Linked DNA regions of Homo sapiens: all the other regions are linked to region 4. The links are contacts of gene promoters, found by promoter capture Hi-C in blood cells and fetal thymus (Javierre and others, 2016). All regions are on one chromosome and are shown on one strand. Each heading gives the region's core, a stretch centred on a gene start or on the middle of the fragment in contact. The rest is flanking DNA. Distances are from core to core; before and after follow the strand shown.

Region 1 (3,618 bases), core at 454-2,953, 390 kb after region 4:
TTCTTTTTATTTTTTAGCAGCCTCTATCTAGCCTTGTCTTGAATTGTTGTTAGATGATATTTTAAAATTTTATCTATACTTTTAATAAATACAGGAGCTGATACAATGAGAATTTGGCCACAGCGATAGCTGAAGACTAAAGGGAAAAAGCCTTATAGTAGTATGTGATTCCTACCTTCTACTTTTACTTTTTTATATTCAATTTTATACCATATGCTTTGTGGTTCCAAACATAGCTCATAATTTTTCATGTCCCAGAAATTTTAGAATTTATCTTTTGAAACAGTCTTTGTAAAGTGGAATCTAAAACCATGTGTTGTATGACATAGGAATGTCTGTAGATGCTCATAATCCCAGACTGCCTTTCCTCCCTGCATATCAAACTACTTATTGAACTATATTGTTTGGATGTCTATAAACACCTCAAACACACAGTGTCCATAGCGAAGACTCATTATTGCTCCATTAATCTGGCTGCTTTTACATTATCTTGTGTGTGTGTGTATGTACATGAGCACATGAATGTGTGTTTTGATTCCACTGTCTAACTATCTAAACAGCTGTGCAGCCTAAAAACCTAGGAGTTGTCTTTGACTTCTTTTTATTCCTTGCAGATATAGCACACATTACCAACTCTGTCCTTCAAATCTTCTGAATATCTTTACATAGCCTCTTCATCACTGCATCTTTTTGCCACCACCATAGTTCAAACCATGGCCATCTCTAAGCCTCTTATCTCTAGTTGTTGTCACTCTCCTTCAGTCACTTTTTACATTACACTTCTTATAATGTTCTCTCTCTTAAAACCCCCTAGTGGCTTTCCATTCTCTTCATGTGAACTCTAAAGTCCTGACGCTGGTTTATAAGACCCTGTAGCCTCATTTGTACCATGCATCCTCTGTATTCTTTCTTCAAGTGATTCTAACCTTTTCTTAGGTACTGCTCCTTCCGCGTATAGCACCATCTGCTCCACCATCACTAGTTTTATCTGGTTAATCCTAATTCCTGCTTTATTTTATAGGCCTCAGTTTAAACTTCACTTCCTCAGGAGAGTCTTTTTTTTTTTTTTGAGATGGAGCCTTGCTCTGTCACTTAGGCTGGAGTGCAGTGGCACAATCTCGGCTCACTGCAACCTCCGCCTCCCGGGTTCAAGTGATTCTCCTGCCTCAGCCTCCTGAGTAGTTGGGATTACAGGTGCCTGCCACCACGCCCAGCTAACTTTGTGTTTTTAGTAGAGGTGGGGGTTTTACCATGTTGGCGAGGCTGGTCTCGAACTCCTGACTTCAGGTGATTCGCCCATTTTGGCCTCCCAAAGTGCTGGGATTACAGGCGTGAGCCACCATGGCCAGCCAAGTCTTTTCTTGAATTGTAGTCTCGCTTTATTTGTTCTTATGAGTCCCTCTACTTTTCCCATTGCAGCCCTTATCACATTCTGCCTTCTTAGATGTTAATCTCCATGAAGACAGAGATCATCTAAATCTTGATTTATTTATCACTTTATTCTCAGAGATTAGTTGAAAACTTGACCCTTAGTAGGTGCTCAATAAATATTTGTTGATGAGTGAATTTAATTTTACACTGAATCATTGCTCTTTATATCTGTAATGAGGAAAGTACCAGTTTGAGTAAAAATAGAAGTCCTAATCATTTTATTTCATTAATGATTCCAAGGCGTTTTTTACAAGAACAGTAGTATTTAAGCAGTGTCATGAAAATAGTGAGTTTGATTAATTATATTCTGCTTATTCATCCTCTGGTTTCAATTATATAGAACAGTGATTCTCAATTTTTAACTTAAAAAAAATCCCAACATTCCTTAGCACTGTTGCATCAATATCAATGGCTCACTAGCTCAGAAGTGGAACAGTAGTTGTCAGTCATGGCCAGGGGTTAGTATAAATAATTTGTAAAAAGCCCCTAGTCCTTACTTCCTCATTGAGTTAGACCCTCTCTCGTCCATTGAGAAGTACTGAAAGAGAGTGTACTTAACTTCAGTGGACCCTGTTCTTAGATATTGTTAAACTTATTTAATATTTGGTAAAATAATTCTGTGGACTGAAACCTAAGTTTAATGTGTGGAAATTAAAAAGTGCAGTAGAGGCCCTCCTGACTGATGAGTATGACAGGTAGATAGGTAGTTGAATAAGTTGGTTAAAGTGAGGAATCATTTAAAAAATATGAGCCGGGTGTGGTGGCACATACTTGTAATCCCAGCTACTGAGGAGGCTGAGGTGGGAAGACTGCTTGAGCCCAGGAGTTTGAGTCCAGCGTGGGCAACATAGTGAGACCCCCATCTTTGAAAAAATATATATATACCTTAAACATTGTATTTTAACTTAAAACACAGAACTGTGTGTTCATTCTCCAGGCTTTTAACTTTGGGCAAAGTATTTTCAGGATATGATTTCCTTGACTGGAGTTCTCGCTCATCTTTTTTATAAATAGCACATCTATAAAGCATCATCTGTGGATCCAATTTTAATCTCTTTAAAATAGAGTTAGAATATAAAGCAATCTGAGTGTAAAATATACTTAGGCTTTTATGATTTTTCTGTCCCAAGGTTTTTTAGCTTTTTTTCCTGGCACTTGTTTTTATTTTATTGTCTCTCAAAAGCATATGATTCAATTTCTGTAATACCTCTCTGTGCTTTCATATGTCATTAGTTCATATACTTTTGATCTAAATTGTGTAATTATGATAAAAAGAACAATTAGCATGAATAGAAACAAAAATTGACTCTAGGTAACCATACGCCCCAGCCTGTGTACAGGGAATGAGCTATGAGCCTTGAGCATTCCATGTATTATGGGTATTAATATGTTTTACAGTGGGAATGGAAACTTCCTAGTCCAGTGAGTCAGTGAAGTTGGAATAGGTTAAAGAGAGTGAATGCATATATACTAATAATTTTTAATGATAAAGATTTCGTACAAGCCTATCCTCCCACCACCCCCAATGATGTATTTAAACTTTGAGGATTTTTTTTTCAAGGCTTAAGAAGTTGGTGTGTGTGTGTGTTTCTTTTTTTTAAATGTGTGTTTTTTATCTTTGAAATATTGTTTGCTAAAGATTGTATTGATGTATTTTTTGCATAGAAGAAAGCAATTAAATGTACATCTCTTGAAATCATACAGATTTGGTTGATAAGATGAAATGAGATTAATCTAGGGATAAAAATTTTTTATTGATTTCAACAGAAAATACTGCATTATATCATTAGAATCAAGAAAATAAGGTTTTATAAACATACAGCTACCTCAGTATCATGTCATATATTGGACATATGGTAATAATTACTATAATGATATACTAAGTACTTTTGTTAATGCTTCATGTAATTCTTTTAAGATGGATGTTTTTATTTTCTACTTTATAAATGAAGAAATTGATTCAGAGAGTGTAAATATTGTGCCTAAAGCCATATAGGTATTAAATGGAAGGCTGGGGTTTGAATTTAGGTATATCTGATTCTAAAGTATATATATTCTGTATTATTGGTTAAGCTTTTTAAAAAAATCTTATGAAATTTTTGGGTTGTGTGTGTCTTTTTTTAGATGAAGAAAATAGTTTACATGTGGTAGTGAACTGTGGAGAAGCATTACTGAAGAATAACACTT
Region 2 (3,152 bases), core at 141-2,640, 280 kb after region 4:
CCGGATGGCACGGCTGGCCGGGCGGGGGGCTGACCCCCCACCTCCCTCCCGGATGGGGCGGCTGGCCGGGCGGGGGGGCTGACCCCCCCCACCTCCCTCCCGGACGGGGTGGCTGCCGGGCGGAGACGCTCCTCACTTCCCAGATGGGGTGGCTGCTGGGCGGAGAGGCTCCTCACTTCTCAGACGGGGCAGCTGCCGGGCGAAGGGGCTCCTCACTTCTCAGACGGGGTGGTTGCCAGGCAGAGGGTCTCCTCACTTCTCAGACGGGGCGGCCGGGCAGAGACGCTCCTCACCTCCCAGACGGGGTCTCGGCCGGGCAGAGGCGCTCCTCACATCCCAGATGGGGCGGTGGGGCAGAGGCGCTCCCCACATCTCAGACGATGGGCGGCCGGGCAGAGACGCTCCTCACTTCCTAGATGTGATGGCGGCTGGGAAGAGGCGCTCCTCACTTCCTAGATGGGATGGCGGCCGGGCGGAGACGCTGCTCACTTCCCAGACTGGGCGGCTGGGCAGAGGGGCTCCTCACATCCCAGACGATGGGCGGCCAGGCAGAGACACTCCTCACTTCCCAGACGGGGTGGCGGCCGGGCAGAGGCTGCAATCTCGGCACTTTGGGAGGCCAAGGCAGGTGGCTGGGAGGTGGAGGTTGTAGTGAGCCGAGATCACGCCACTGCACTCCAGCCTGGGCACCATTGAGCACTGAGTGAACGAGACTCCGTCTGCAATCCCGGCACCTCGGGAGGCCGAGGTTGGCGGATCACTCGCGGTTAGGGGCTGGAGACCGGCCCGGCCAACACAGCGAAACCCCGTCTCCACCAAAACCAGTCAGGCGTGGCGGCGCGTGCCTGCAATCGCAGGCACTCGGCAGGCTGAGGCAGGAGAATCAGGCAGGGAGGTTGCAGTGAGCCGAGATGGCAGCAGTACAGTCCAGCTTCGGCTCCGCATGAGAGGGAGACCGTGGGGAGAGGGAGAGGGAGGGGGAGGGGGAGGGGGAGGGGGAGGGGGAGGGGAGGGGGAGAGGGAGAGGGAGAGGGAGAGGGAGAGGGAGAGGTCATTATTTTCAAATAATAAAAAATTTTAATTTTTTCCAATATATTCTTATGAATTGCTCCACTTTGTTATTTGGATTATACACTATCCAAGAAGCTTATTCATTTCTTTTTTGAAATTTATTTATTCTTAATGAATCACTGATATTGGTATGATTTGAAAACTTCTCTCTTATAATTTGCTTCTTGAATACAGAATAATCACTGATTTTGTCATTCATGTTTATGACTTTAGCTTCATATTCTATTAATTTTATCTGTTTTTTTCAGTTCTTAAACTAGGAACTGTAATTTCTTCACATCTTATTAAAATGTTTAAAAATGCCTGCTCAAATTACATTTATAGTGGTTTATTCTCAATTCAACTTCTTTTTAGACAGAAACTCAAAATACTTGTGTCACTTCAGCACCATTGAACACTGGGGAAGTGGAATGGAGGGAGATTTGAAATGGAAGAACAACAGTTGTTTGATGATTTTGGTTAAAATATCTTTTACAAATTTAACAAAACCATATGACCTTATGAACACATTATTAGGATCCCTCCCAGGTCCTTGGAAAGGGCCAATATAATGGAGGGGTCCTGAAGCTTAAACTTTGTTGGCTTCACTGCAAACCCTTCTCTGATCTTGAGTACGTAACACACATCCACTCTTCCTCTTTTTGGACTAAGTGTTTTCCTGTGTTTTGTGTGCTAGATCTTCTTTTTCTCCTCCAGATACATTCTCCACCAGCTCCTTCTCTACCAGGAGGCTGATCTACGCAGAGGAGAGCACTAACAACAGAGTGGGGGAGGGGGGCATTCACTCCAGCCTTCATTCCCCTGGCTCCATTCCTGCAGGGTTGGCATGGCTTGGATGCATCCTCAGGGACCTCTCCGTACAGTCGTCTTTCTCACCAGTGACTAGCTCCTCCTTTCGCTCCGCCACCCTCCCCTTGGGATGGTAATGGAGCCCTCAATATTACTAACTTTGGGGTACCACAGTATCCCTCAGAATTTACTTATGCCCTTCCCACACCTTTGTAAAAAGTAGTTTATTACATTTTCCTGCTGCCAGACGATCATGGTAGCACATACCTGTAATCCCAGCTAGTCAGGAGGCTGAGGAGGGAGGATCCATAGAGCCCAAGAGTTTGAGACCCCATCTCAAAAAAAAAAAAAATCTTGCTGAGACTCTGATACAGTTTGTAACATCAACCTTGTGTAGGCAGTAACTTCACTGTACATTTAACTTCCTCTAAAATCATTTTTAATTACTGTCTTTATTTTCAAGGGATCAGCATAGTCTTACCCCTAAGGTGGATATGATCAAAGGAGAATTATCTTCTATCTGCTTAGTACCTGGATTTTTTATGTGGCTATTTTCATTTCTTTAAAAAAATCTCATTCTAGGCAGGGCACAGTAGCTCACACCTGTAATCCCAGCACTTTGGAAGACCAAGGTGGGAGGATTGCTTGAGGCCAGGAGTTCATGACCAGCCTGAGCAATACAGTGAGACTCTGTCTCTACAAAAGAATTTAAAAATTATCTGGGTATGTGTGGTAGCATGAGCCTTGTAGTCCCAGCTACTCTGGAGGCTAACTAAGATGGGAGGATCACCTGAGCCCAGGAGTTCAAGGCTGCAGGAAGCCATGATCATACCACTGCACTCCAACCTGGGCAACAGAGCTAGACCTTGTTTCAAAAAAAAAAAAAAAGCTATTTTTTAAAATTTGGATAACCATTCTAGAATTAGAATTAGACGTGGTAACAATCTTTTCAACAAATTTTGCTGGAGCAATTATTGTTCATCCATATAGAAAAAGAAGGAACTTTGCCATCTGCCTTATATTATGCCCCAAAATTAATTTAACATGAATCATACAACTAAATGTGAAAATAAAACAATACAGATTCTAAAAGAAATTAGGGGAGAATATCTCTGAACATTTGGAGTAGGCAATGATTTTTTAAATGCAACATAAAAAGCACTAATTATCCAAAGATACCAATAGGAGAGTGAAAAAGAAAGCCGTAGACTGGGGGGAAGAAATCCACAATTCCTACATCTGATGTAACCTTCATATCCAGATTCATATAAAGAATCCTAATTGATAAAATT
Region 3 (3,660 bases), core at 161-2,660, 500 kb after region 4:
TTCAAAATAAAAGGGACGCTTGCTAAATACCAAATTATGAATCTTTTTAAAAAAACAAAAAATTCTTTCCTAAAACAATCCTTTTTTGGGGCTTGGTGGGGTCAATACTGGGTTTAAGGGAATGGAAGAGTTAGGAAAAGAAAGAAAATAAACTGCAAGGGCTAAAGAGAATCTTATAATTGGTTACATATCAAAAGAAAGATGTTGTCAGTTCCCATTTTTTTTCTTTTTAAGCATCTTATCAGGTACCCTGGGGATTTAGAAGCTATATTTGAAATAGTCCCTGTTCTCCATGAATTTACAGTTTAGTTGGAGAGATGGAACTAATATAACATCAATCTATATAACAGAATATAATTTGTTTTTAAAAATATCATATAGAGAAAGCACTGTAGAACTTCTAAAGGGAAGATGAGCAAATTGAAATATAAAATATGTGTAAGTCCTTCTTTCTGTCCCAGGAAAGCTTCCTGGAGAAGTTAAAAGTTGAATTGCCTCTTGTATAATATAGGCTGTGGTATGGATGAAGATACTGGTTTTTTTTTTTTTTTCCCCCTGAGAAATTGAGTAACTTGCTCAACTACTGAGTGGTAGACTCAGGCCTTGAACCTAGATCTCTTTCCAGAAGCTTTGCCCTTTTCACCAAACCAACGTGTGTTTGAGAATGTGGGGTGTGTAGTGTGTGTACACACGTTTGCTTTTCAAATTATAGTCTAAAATAGAAGTTAGTGTTGAATGGGGGGATTGAGAGGACAGCATACTTTGGTCATGCAAAAAGAAGCTGGAGCATAGTTAGAGGGGTTTTTAATGTGCACATCTAGGTGGCCACTAGGGTAGGCTTTAAACAGTCTTTCTCATCATTCTTTCAAATGTAGAGATTTTCGCCTCTTTTTTTTCTTCCAAACTAATTTGAATGTATTTGTGTTAGAAAATATAGAAAAGAGTCTGCTTTTCTTTGACAGCAAAAAGCTCGGAAAACTTCCACTCCCAGCATATCTTTATTTTTGCATCATTCATTGAGGAGGAAAGAAACATAATATTGCTGTGTGATTTTCAGCAGTCGGACATGGGACATATGACCCATTTGTGTGTTCTTTAGCATGTCTCAAAGGACCAATTTTGACATATATGAAACAAAGAAAAGTTGGTATTTAGAGCCATATTGATTTTTAAAATCCTAGATATTGCTGGATACAGTGGTGTGCGCCTATTCCTGGATACTTGGGAGGCTGAGGCAGGAGGATTGCTTGAGCACAGGAGTTCAAGTGCAACCTGGGCAACACAGCAAGACTTCATCTCTCAAAAAAAATTTTTAAGAAATGTAAAATCCTAGATATTATTACACATTAATCCTTTGGATAGGTAGTTTTTGATTTTTAATTCAGAAAGAATATTGCATAGGAGATCTTCCAGTCATAATCTGGAATAATTAATTAGATTTTACTAGTTTTTTTCGAGAATTCTTTACAATGAAATTCTTAGTAATATGTTTGTCATCCGTTATATTTGGGGATTGAGAAAACAGAATTGTTCTTATATTTATATTTTAATAAATATTTTTGCAAATATGGTGAAATGTTGACATTCTGGTTTTGACATTCATTTGTAAGTATTGTTTGTGTTTCTGGTTAGCTCTCTTAAAAGTACTATCTAGGAAATCTTAGTTTTTATAAGAGAATATAGCCATTAATTTTTTTCTACAGATTAGGCAACAGAAGATTTGTGAAAACAAAATGTATTGATCTCATTTATATTCCCTTGATGAAGGAACACATGCTGGTCTCCGCTCGCTTTCTGTCCACTAGTATGAAATCCTTGTCCCTGCTTCCTTGCTGGTAGGTTTTTAGAAGTTCAGTGAGCAATGCAAATCGCCTGAAGGGTGGAAAATTCCCTTGTCACACAGATGCCCTTATCAGCAGCAACCAGATGGAGCTCTGAGCTGGAACGTTATCGGTGTTAAATTGCTTTTTCTCCCACCCTGAGTAGAGAGGATTAAAGCATTCCTTTAGAAATGGGTGGCAAATGTACAGACTTAGGAATATTAATATTCTTTAACAATTTGCATTTATAAGTAAATACATGGAAATATAATCTCCAAAAAAGTCCATGTTCAAAATTCAGCCAAATCAGTGCAAAATGTTTTGTTTTAAATAAAATAGGATAATAGTCTTTCATGAATTCACTTGCAAAGAGTAAGCTTGAAACTGTTTTTTTTTCTTTTTTTTTTTTTTAAGTGGGAGACAGTATCTCACTATTAGGGTCAAATGCATATTAGGGTCAGTTTTGGTTGTAGAAAATAAAGGTATGTCTAAGTGTATTCATACTGTTGAAGAAAAATACAATTTAAATTATTTCTCAGAGTTGTCATTTATTTTGGCATAATTAATTGGTTCTTTTACTGTTACTGTTTTTGGGTAAATCCTTAGATTCTGCATTAGTTTGATTTTTGAAATGTTGATTTATTAAATATTGCTATTTTGTAAGCTAATAATTGCTAAATACCTTGCAATTTCAGGTCTGTATGAACAGTATTGATGGTTAGCCATATCAGTAGTTACACAGTGTATTTTAATGAAACTAGTTTTAGAAGTCCGTAAGAGAGACTGCTGTTAAATTATATGTGTTGTTCATAGCCATTTCTATATTAGTGATTTTGTTTCTTAATATTGATTTCCAGATACCATCTAACCTCCAATGAATGATAACCATTTCTCTGATAGAAAAATTGGTATGCCTTTGTGTTTTATATGGCAATAACCACCTACACAGTGGCTGACGTTGGAGTAAAAATTCTTTCTTCATATTCATATGCAGGTTTATGAAATATGTTGCAGTTTTTTTTTTTTTCTTAAGGCCTAGTTTTTAGTATGTGCCAAGAGTTGGGACTTTGCAACAATTACACCATGATGTGTGCAATTTTTTGCAGGTGTAAATATGAACATATAAGTAAGGATGGATAAATTGTTCCCTTTGTATTTCTAAATATCAGATAAATATGATTATTACTGATACAACATAAAAACTGCTTTTGCAAAAAATAAAGTTGAAGAACTTTATTTTTTAGGTTGATTCAGACATGTCAATAAAGCAGATTAATAAAGAATCTTCAGTTTAATGACTGAGATATAATGTTTTACTTACAGAACCAATTTAGAACTTGAATTGATTCATCGAGGAGGCAATTTGTGTTCAGGTGGTGCAAGCACAGCTGGCAAAAGGTCTTGTTTAAGTAAGTACTAAATACTGCTAAATTTAAAAAAAATTCTGTCATTTTTGGAAGCATTGACAGGAAAAGTGACATTTTGGTATATTTCAAATTTTGTCTGTTATATATGATCTATTTAGATAGTGATATATACTTTAAATGGCTAATCTTGTACTTGGAAGAATCATATGGATATTTAGCTCTTTCTAGATTATGATTACCTAGCACATAAATGTGATGCTAAGTGACGAGGTTTCAAAATTAAAGCACTGTATGATTCTCAGCTATAAAAAATTGTTCTTAAACTTTAATTCTCTTAAAGAATTTTTACATTGAATTAAGAAAATATTTTTATAAAGACAATATATGTTACCCACAGATTTCTATTATATTATTGCTATTAAGATATTTGTGCTATATTTTGATGTGTATATTAAAATGTATTGAAATTGCAC
Region 4 (3,355 bases), core at 6-2,505:
TCCCAGCTACTCGGGAGGCTGAGGCAAGAGAATTGCTTGAACCCGGGAGGCAGAAGTTGCAGTGAGCCGAGACTGCGCCATTGTACTCCAGCCTGGGTGACAGAGCGAGACTCTGTCTCAAAAATAAATAAATAAATGAAAGTATTTAATGAAGTATATTATACCATCTATATATAAACAAAGGACCGATTTTCTTTCAAATCATTACTTCTACCTCCATAATTAATATGGTATTCTATTATAATCAACAGCCTACGTTATGTCCCCAGTTATATACTCTTTAAAAAAAGGGGGGGCTGTTCTCTATGACCATTGTAGGAGTTCATCTTGATTTTGCTGTGTTTAGTGATAACATTGTTCTCATGGGGTTATATCTGTTCTATTTTTCACGTTTTATTTAATGAATGATAATTTTTGATATTTAAAATTACAGATTATCTTTTGTGATCTTATTTGAATGTGTGTGGACTTTTTCGTTCCCTAGATTGACTTTTAATTATTTTTTCTGGCTCTGTGATTCCTTTTAACCTTTTGCTTTTATTTTACCTTATTATCGTTTGCCACATTAGATCATTTGTATGACAAGGCAGGATATGAATAAATAATTTTATAATTTAATTCAATATTAATTACAGTTTTTCCATGTAAGAATAATTTGGAATGTTTTAGAAAATTAGCAATTCCTCTGCATTTCTTTTTTCAATTATCATGGCAACATTAAAGGTTTTGTAAAACTAGTACAGAAGTAAACATCTTTAAGTTTACTACTTCTAAAAGAAATATCTATATCCCACTGTTCTGAGTAGAAAGTAAAAATTTGTATGTTAACAATTATTGGAAATGAGATCTTGCTTATGAGTATTCAAATGAACACATCTCATATTCTTGACCTTTGCATCATTAATTCAGAGAGCCAAGTAGCTTGACACTAGAACATATTTAGAGGAGTGACTCATTTTTATGATTCATTTTTCTGTTAATTCAATAAACATTTTCTTGTAGTAGCCTTTATTAGTATATCTTCTAATGTGTTATGTATTTTTAAGCTTTCAACTTCACTTAAATGTCTTGTTTCTTAGCTGTTTCCCTAGTGATTAAAAGTTCCAGTTGTTACTTTCAATCTATAACAGCTGCAAGAACAACTCTTCTTTCCAAGCCAGCTCTCCTAAATTCCCGTTGTTAGAGTTGGTATCTATATTTAGCTAGTGGGATTAAATTGCAAAGGCTTCAAGCTGGGCAAAGCACACTGATCTGCCTTTTTACAGCTAGACCTGTGTGCTGCAAGGAGCTAAGGCCTTCAGTGTCCCCTTCCTTACCCAGGTTTCTCACAGAATGGATTCCCAGCGGGAACTTGCAGAGGAACTGCGGCTTTACCAATCCACCCTTCTTCAGGATGGTCTAAAAGATCTCCTGGATGAGAAAAAATTCATCGATTGCACCCTAAAAGCAGGTGACAAAAGTCTTCCTTGCCACAGATTGATTTTGTCAGCTTGTAGTCCTTACTTCCGTGAGTACTTTTTATCTGAAATTGATGAGGCGAAAAAAAAGGAGGTAGTGCTAGACAATGTGGATCCTGCTATACTTGATTTAATCATCAAATACCTGTACTCTGCCAGTATTGATCTCAATGACGGAAATGTGCAAGATATTTTTGCATTGGCCAGCCGCTTTCAGATCCCCTCAGTGTTTACTGTCTGCGTTTCTTATCTTCAGAAAAGACTTGCTCCTGGTAACTGTCTAGCCATCCTAAGATTAGGACTTCTTCTTGACTGCCCGAGACTCGCCATTTCTGCCCGTGAATTTGTGTCTGATCGCTTTGTACAGATTTGTAAGGAAGAGGACTTTATGCAACTGTCTCCACAGGAACTGATCTCAGTCATTTCAAATGACAGCCTAAATGTAGAAAAAGAAGAAGCAGTATTTGAGGCAGTGATGAAATGGGTGCGAACAGACAAGGAAAACAGGGTTAAAAACCTTAGTGAAGTGTTTGATTGTATCCGTTTTCGCCTTATGACAGAAAAATATTTTAAGGATCATGTTGAGAAAGATGATATAATTAAAAGCAACCCAGACCTCCAGAAAAAAATCAAAGTTCTAAAAGATGCTTTCGCAGGCAAACTCCCAGAACCTAGCAAAAATGCCGCGAAGACTGGGGCTGGTGAGGTGAATGGTGATGTTGGTGATGAAGATTTACTTCCTGGTTACCTGAATGACATTCCCAGGCATGGAATGTTTGTAAAAGACCTCATCCTCTTGGTTAATGACACAGCAGCAGTGGCTTATGACCCCACGGAAAATGAATGCTACCTTACTGCACTGGCTGAGCAGATTCCCAGAAATCATTCCAGCATTGTTACCCAGCAAAATCAGATATATGTGGTAGGAGGACTATATGTGGATGAAGAAAATAAGGATCAACCTCTACAGTCATACTTCTTCCAGGTAAGAAGGACTTTTTGTATATGTAGTTGCTTAAAGGGAAGGCTGTTACTCACCATCCAGTTAGCCAATTTGTGAATTATTCAAGCTGCTTGCATTTTACTCTAATTGATGTCCTATTCCAGTCCCTTGCACTTTTGCTGTATAGAGCGTTGACAGAAAAATATTTGACTGCTTTGTTAATGTGTAATAAAAAGTTTGGTGAATAATGAGGTTCTAATTCATGTTTAATGACTTAAGATGTTCTTTATACTATTTTACCAAAAATGCCTTGTTTATAGATGATCGTGACTGTAATCCCTCAAAGCCCAGTATTTTAGTAAAAACTAAATTTATTTTTTCTTAGCAGAGATGGGCTCTCACTATGTTGCCCCGGCTGGTCTCGAACTCCTGGGCTCAAGCAATACTCCCAGTTTGGCTTCCCAAAGTGCTGGGATTACCGGTGTGAGCCACCACCCCCTGCTGTAAAAACTAAATTTAATCTTGTATACTCTTACCTATTAAAAATAGTTAATGTCTTTCCCCAAATAGTTTCCCTAAATCAAAGTTCTTATCCATTATAAAGAAGTAATAATTGGTCAGATTTTCTTTTTTAATTTCTTTTTCTTCTTCATCTGCTGGCAGCTCTAAATTGGTCAGATTTTCTACCTTCTTCCAAGTTTCCCTGAACTTCATTTGAAGTTCTTGGAGGTAGCACTTCATCTCTTATTTATGGTTACTGCCTAAAATATAATTTTGTTGAAAATGAAAAAAACTTGTATATATATTCCACACACTTTGGATTATCTTCTAGGAAAAACTGTCTACACAAAAGTCGCTAATTTGAATTAATTATAGTTAGAAATTTTTATTATATCACATTTATTTGGATCAGAGATACATTTAGACATTATTAGAACTTAACAATCTGTTTTGT
Region 5 (3,250 bases), core at 386-2,885, 290 kb after region 4:
TTGGTATTAATTTCTTTATGACTATGAGGAGAAAAATTAGAAATTATTCATTCTGTGTTTAATACTTAGAACAATACTAAGATGTATATAGAAAAGGTTGTATCTCTCCCACAACCTGCTAACTCTCAAATCCTACTCTTCTGAGGTTATCAAGGTTAAAAGCTTTTGACACTTTGCTTCATGCTCATACTAATTTTTTTAGTGGACCTTATATTTTACAACAGTTCTAGGTTTACAGCAAAATTGAGCAGAAGGTACAGAGATTTTCCATATATCCCCTGCCTCCACACAAGCATAGTGCCTTCACCTTTTAAAACATCCCCCACCAGAGTGGTACATTTCTAACAATTTTATTTCCTTCCCTTTCCCCCGCTAAATATAGGATGCATTTTTGTGGAGAAAAGTTTTGTAATCAATAATCTTTTCATTCTCCTCTTTAATATGAAGGATGTTTCTAATTTTTTTAGCTGTAATCATTCTTTGACAAATATTCTTATATATAAATCTTAGTAAACATGTTTATTGATTTCTTCAAGGAAAATTCTTAGAAGGAGCCATACTGGCTCAAGGATTATGCACATTTAAAAAACACTGATAATTGTCAGTTTACATCTACCTGAATGGCTAGTTCTCTGTGTTCAAGTCAATACTAGGTAGTCTTGGTTTTCTTTCTAATCTTAGCCAGTTTGTTAGGTGAAAAATGCTGTCTCGTTGCTTTAAATTGTATTTCTTTGATTAACAATGAAATGAGGTTGGATTTTTTTTTTAGTTTACAGTACATTATTTATTTATTTATTTTTTGTGATGGAGTCTCACTCTTGTCTCCCAGGCTGGAGTGCAGAGTGCAGTGGCGTGATCTTGGCTCACCACAACCTCCACCTTCCAGGTTCCTCAGCTTCCCAAGTAGCTAGGATTATAGGTGCACACCACCATGCCCGGCTAATTTTTGTATTTTTAGTGGAGACGGGGTTTCACCATGTTGGTCAGGCTGGTTTCGAACTCCTGACCTCGGGTGATCCACCTGCTTCGGCCACCCAAAGTGCTGGGATTACAGGCATGAGCTATTGCGCTTGGCCTATTTTTTATAATTTTTAAAAAAATCATTAGCTGGGCATGGTGGCATGTGCTTGTCGTCCTAGTTACTTGGAAGGCTGAGGAGGAAGATCAATTGAGCCCGGGAGTTTCAGGCTGCAGTGAGCTGTGGTTGCACCACTGCATTCCAGTCTGGGCAACAAAGCAAGACCCGATCCCTGAAAAATAGTGTCTTTTTTTTTTTTAAGACAGAGAGACAGTATTGCTCTCCTCTCAGGCTGGAGTACAGTGGCGGTGATCTCAGCTCACTGCAACCTCCACCTCCCGGGTTCAAGCTAGTCTTGTGCCTCAGCCATCCGAGTAGTTGGGATTACAGGCGTGCACCACCATGTGTGGCTAATTTTTGTATTTTTAGTAGAGTCAGGGTTTCACCACTTTGGCCAGTCTGTTGTCGAACTTCTGGCCTCAAGAAATTGACCCGCCTCAGCCTCCCAAAGTGCTGGGATTATGGGCTTGGGCCACCGTGCGAGGCCAATAAAATATCCTTTAACTGTTTTCTATTAGGGTGTTCTCTTTTTACCCTTCTTCTTTGTTTGTAAGAATTCTTGACAAAATTTGTTTGTCTTTTACTTTTTATGTTACTTCTGGCATTCCAAATAGTCATACTTGGGTTTTTCCTTGGCTTGTATATTGAGAGTTCCTCTATGCTTAAATTTGAGAAACATTTACTTTAACTTTTTTTTTTTTTTTTTTTTTTGAGGCAGCGTCTTACTTTGTTGCCCAGGCTGGAGTACAGTGGCACAATTATGCCTCACTGCAGCTTCAACCTGCCAGGCTTAAGCAATCCTCCCACTTCAGCTTCCTGAGCTGGGACTAGAGGCACGTACCTCTATTTCTTATTTATTTTATTTATTTATTTATTTTTTGGAGAGCTGGGGTCTTGCCATGTTGCCCAGGCTGGTCTTGAACTCCTAGACTCAAGCAATGCACCCACCTCAGCCTCCTAAAGTGCTGGGATTAGGCATGAACCACCACTCCTGGCCCCCCACCCCCTTTTTTGAGATGGAGTCTCACTCTTTTGTCAGGCTGGAATGCAGTGGCACAATCTTGGCTCACTGCAGCCTCTGCCTCCCGGTTTCAAATGATTCTTCTGCCCCAGCCCCCTGAGTAGCTGGGACTACAGGTGTGTGCCACTATGTGCAGCTAATTTTTGTATTTTTAGTAGAGACGGGGTTTGACCATGTCGGCCAGGGTGGTCTCAATCTCTTGACCTCCCAAAGTGCAGGGATTACAGGCGTGCGGCACCGTGCCTGGCCCCGTCCCTTATTTTTTAATTTTAAAAAATTAGAAGGGCAGGTGTGGTGGCTCATGCCTGCAATCCCAGCACTTTGGGAGGCCGAGGTGGGCAGATCGCTTGAGATCAGGAGTTCAAGGCCAACATGGTAAAACCCTGTCTCTACTAAAAATAACAAAAATTCGCTGGGCGTGGTGGTACATGCCTGTAATCCCAGCTACTCAGGAGGCTGAGGCAGGAGAATCACTTGAACCTGGGAAGCGGAGGTTGCGGCAAGCTGAGTTCATGCCACTGCACTCCAGCCTGAGCGACAGAGTAAGACTCTGTCTCAAAAAAAAATAAGAATTGAGTGATTAACCAATTTCTTCCAGTTCTTTTTATTTAACCATCTGTTCTTTCCACACTGATTTGCAAGAGCCTTTTCATATAATCTTTAAATATATTCTTCTTTAAGGTTTTCTAGTCTATTGACACATCTGTTACACTATTTTAGTAATTGACATTTTAGTTTTATCTTTTTGCTAATTTGTAAACATTATTGTATATTTGGGGAAAGTGTTTTGCCTTTTGTAACTTATGTATTTTTAAATAACAGAACTTGGTACTGTAGAGTAATGTCAGGATTGGAGTCCATATTATACAGTGTTCTGAAATACATTGTAATTATCTCACAGTATTATTTTGGCGACTTCAATTTGCCACGGGACAAGTTTCTAAAGGAACAGATAAAACTGGATGAAGGCTGGGTACCTTTGGAGATAATGATAAAATTCAACAGGTAACAAGCTTTTAAAAATAATCTTTAGGTTTTCTGTTTACAATGAGTGCTACTGCTGAGTCTTATGTTTTTATATGTACTCTTCAGGTTGAACCGTCTAACAACAGACTTTAATGTAATTGTGGAAGCATTGAGCAAATCCAAGG
Region 6 (3,175 bases), core at 121-2,620, 370 kb after region 4:
ATGTATATTATATATACACATATAATATAATTATATATGTATGTATATATACACATATATATTTATATTATATATGTATATTATATACATATATTTATATTATATATGTATATATATTTATCATATTTATATGTAATATGCATGTGTAATAAATAATATACACATTTATATATGTATATTATATACATATATTTATATTGTATATGTATATATATTTATATATATTTGTATATCATATATTTATATATTGTATATTTATGTATATTATATATTTATATATTATATATGTATTATATAATATATATGTAAATATATATTATATATGTAAATATATATTATATATAAAAATATATATATATAAAATAAGGTGTTTGCTTTATGGTTTTAAACTTGTCAAGTCTTGAGTTAGAAAAGTCAGCTGGGTGTGGTGGCCCATAACTGTAATCCCAGCATTTTGGGAGGCCGAGGCGGGCAGATCACCTGAAGTCAGGAGTTTGACACCAGCCTGGCCAACATTGTGAAACCCCATCTCTACTGAAAATACAAAAATTAGCTGAACATGCTGGCACATGCATGTAATCCCAGCTACTCAGGGCACTGAGACAGGAGAACCCCTTGAACCTGGAGGCAGAAGTTGCAGAGCTGAGATTGCACCACTGCACTTCAGCCTGGGTGACAGAGTGAGACTCCATCTCAAAAAAAAGAAAAAAAAAAAGAAAAGTCATGTGATACAACAAAAACGAAATGAAAATTAGTGTCAAGCAATTCAAGGGTTATAAAAATTATGACTGCTTGAGCTAAAAGGGACTATATAATTCATCTTGTCTTTCTTATTTATGGATGAAAAAACTGAATTCCATAGAATTAACTGATTCACTCAGGCTAGTGAATGCCGTCTAGTTAGTGGTAGAGTTGAAATTGGGCACTAGTTCTTCTATCTGCTGGTCTAAGTGTTCTTTCTATAAAGTGGATAAACCATGATTGTCATTACTGTTGCTATGCAGCAAATTTGCCCAAAGCTTTATGTCTTAAAATTACCATTTTATTTTGCTCACAATTTTATGACTTAGGAACGTGAGAATGGCATCTGGGCAGTTCTTACTTTGGTCATCATATGTGGTTGCAGTTAGTTGTTGGCTGCAGCCATAGTCATCTGAGGGCTTCACACTGAGACGGAGATCTAAGATGGCTCACTCATAGGGCTGATAGTTGATGCTGACCATCCGAGAACTCAGCTGGTTGTTGATCAGTATGACGACATGTGGTTTCTCCAGCATGGTGGTCTCAAGTTGGACATCTTACATAGTAGTGACTTACTTCTCCCAGGCCAACAGCCCAAGAGTAGAAGCTGTAGAGCCTTTTCTGAGCTAGTCTTGGAAGGTATGTGGTGTCACTTCATCCTTTTTGTTATAAACGAGTTGCGAAAGTATGTCCAGATTCAGTGGGAGGTGATATAGATCCCACCTCTTGATGGGAAGAATGTCAGAGAATTTGTAAACATGTTTTAAAACTTCCACAACCAGGATATGACATTAGTCATTCTTTTCCCTGGATTCAGTTGATAATCCAATAGTGGGTAGTGATAATAGCTAAATAATGTACCAATAATTTCTTATAAATTTTCTATCTATTTTAGTGGCACTATCTCTTGGGAAAAAATACAACTGATAAAGTAATGCCATTTTAGCCAGTAATGGCTATTACAGAGTTTTAATGAAAATCAAAGCTTTCCTTAAGTATAGTAGTTACTATTGTACATCAAGAGAATAAAAACTTATATTTAGATTATAAGGTTATTTTATTTATTTTGAGACAGAGTCTTACTCTTTTGCCCAGGCTGGAGTGTAGTGGTGTGATCTTGGCTCACTGAACCTCTGCTTCCCAGGTTCAAGTGATTCTCCCGTCTCAGCCTCCCGACTAGCTGTGACTACAGGCGCGTGCCACCACACCCAGCTAATTTTTGTATTTTTAGTAGAGATGGGGTTTTGCCATGTTGGACAGGCTGGTCTTGAACTCCTGACCTCAGGTGATTCACCCACCTTGGCCTCCCAAAGTTCTGGGATTAGAGGCGTGAGCCACCGTGCCCAGCCTGTAAGGTATTTTGGAGAGCTGACTTTTTTTTTTTTTTTTTGAGACGGAGTCTTGCACTGTCGCCCAGGCTGGAGTACAGTGGCGTGATCTTGGCTCACTGCAAGTTCTGCCTCCCAGGTTCACGCCATTCTGCCTCAGCCTCCCGAGTAGCTGGGACTACAGGCACCCGCCACCACACCCGGCTAATTTTTTGTATTTTTAGTAGAGACGGGGTTTTTCCGTGTTAGCCAGGATGGTCTTGATCTCCTGACCTCGTAATCTGCCCTGGCCTCCCAAACTGCTGGGTTTACAGGCGTGAGCCATGGCTCCCAGCCAAGAGTTGACTTTTAACTTTGTAAAGCAGAAGAAAATATACTGAAATTTTATTAGTATTCATTGTAGGTTAAAGAACAAAATATATTTTTGAATTTAATTACTAATGAGGCTATGAAACTACTGTGACTCTTCCGCTAGTCTCTTTTTGGGGTTGTGTATCCTGTTTTAATCTGGTTTGTTTTTTGTTTATTAGTGGAAAACATTATTTTATTAGGACTAATGGCCTACATGGAATAAAAATTCTGTTGGTGGCTAGGCATCATAAGCAAGAAGCAATGTTAATTGAGTTTGCGCGATTTATTTGGAAAGAAAGATAAGAAGTTCCATCAACCCCTTTAAAAATGAATATGATTATTATTTAAAATTTGCTTTTACTTTTGTTCTTCTCAAAGTATTTTTTAACATATATTAAAATGGTCAAAATGCAATAATTATTATAGAATAGAATAGATTAAGGTGAAAATAGATGAAGGGATAAGATAGATGGAAAGAGGTTGATAGAGGAAGAGTACTTAAATATAGATGTTCTTGAACAAATAACTATTTTATGCCATTTAAATATTCATTAAGGCTTTTAATGTCATGTTGCATTTTACTTGGAACTGTAGGCACAAATGACATATTTGCTTTAGTATTTATATTTGAAATATAGTGAAGAGCTAGGTATGGCTTCAGGATTAGAATTTCTACACCATTACCTTATAGGCCCATGGGATTGTTAAGCAAACCCTTTTCATGATTTTATTGTTGTAATTTAAGATATCATAAA

What was found. Contacts are between HindIII fragments. The CHiCAGO score rates a contact against its expected background, and 5 or more counts as called.
Region 1: a contact is called between a fragment that was not itself captured here and the fragment with the promoter of KLHL41 in region 4, in 4 of 17 cell types (total B cells, erythroblasts, total CD4 T cells and 1 more). The highest score is 8.0, in total B cells.
Region 2: a fragment that was not itself captured here is called in contact with the fragment with the promoter of KLHL41 in region 4 in 1 of 17 cell types (erythroblasts); the score reaches 5.5 in erythroblasts.
Region 3: a contact is called between a fragment that was not itself captured here and the fragment with the promoter of KLHL41 in region 4, in 1 of 17 cell types (non-activated CD4 T cells). The highest score is 5.8, in non-activated CD4 T cells.
Region 5: a contact is called between a fragment that was not itself captured here and the fragment with the promoter of KLHL41 in region 4, in 1 of 17 cell types (endothelial precursors). The highest score is 5.2, in endothelial precursors.
Region 6: a fragment that was not itself captured here is called in contact with the fragment with the promoter of KLHL41 in region 4 in 3 of 17 cell types (fetal thymus, activated CD4 T cells and naive CD4 T cells); the score reaches 6.9 in fetal thymus.

The regions. Positions count from the first base shown.
Region 1 is chr2:169,901,559-169,905,176 of GRCh38, forward strand. It overlaps UBR3 (ubiquitin protein ligase E3 component n-recognin 3), which reads left to right. Exons shown (of 39, transcript NM_172070.4): 9 at 3,556-3,618. Among named protein-coding and RNA genes, the nearest start is that of UBR3, 76 kb to the left of the region's middle. The HindIII fragment of the contact is 3,598 bases long and covers 1-3,502 here.
Region 2 is chr2:169,786,391-169,789,542 of GRCh38, forward strand. No RefSeq gene overlaps it. Among named protein-coding and RNA genes, the nearest start is that of SSB, 11 kb to the right of the region's middle. RefSeq lists an enhancer at 3,134-3,152. The HindIII fragment of the contact is 492 bases long and covers 1,145-1,636 here.
Region 3 is chr2:170,012,138-170,015,797 of GRCh38, forward strand. UBR3 (ubiquitin protein ligase E3 component n-recognin 3) reads left to right here. Exons shown (of 39, transcript NM_172070.4): 30 at 3,144-3,229. Among named protein-coding and RNA genes, the nearest start is that of MYO3B, 160 kb to the right of the region's middle. RefSeq lists an enhancer at 960-2,518. The HindIII fragment of the contact is 1,569 bases long and covers 627-2,195 here.
Region 4 is chr2:169,508,447-169,511,801 of GRCh38, forward strand. KLHL41 (kelch like family member 41) reads left to right here and starts at 1,256. Exons shown (of 6, transcript NM_006063.3): 1 at 1,256-2,442. The coding sequence starts at 1,333. The HindIII fragment of the contact is 4,398 bases long and covers 1,045-3,355 here.
Region 5 is chr2:169,802,474-169,805,723 of GRCh38, forward strand. It overlaps SSB (small RNA binding exonuclease protection factor La), which reads left to right. Exons shown (of 12, transcript NM_003142.5): 3 at 3,001-3,104; 4 at 3,192-3,250. Among named protein-coding and RNA genes, the nearest start is that of SSB, 5.2 kb to the left of the region's middle. The HindIII fragment of the contact is 2,950 bases long and covers 161-3,110 here.
Region 6 is chr2:169,882,043-169,885,217 of GRCh38, forward strand. The region is part of intron 5 of UBR3 (ubiquitin protein ligase E3 component n-recognin 3); the gene reads left to right. Among named protein-coding and RNA genes, the nearest start is that of UBR3, 56 kb to the left of the region's middle. The HindIII fragment of the contact is 707 bases long and covers 1,018-1,724 here.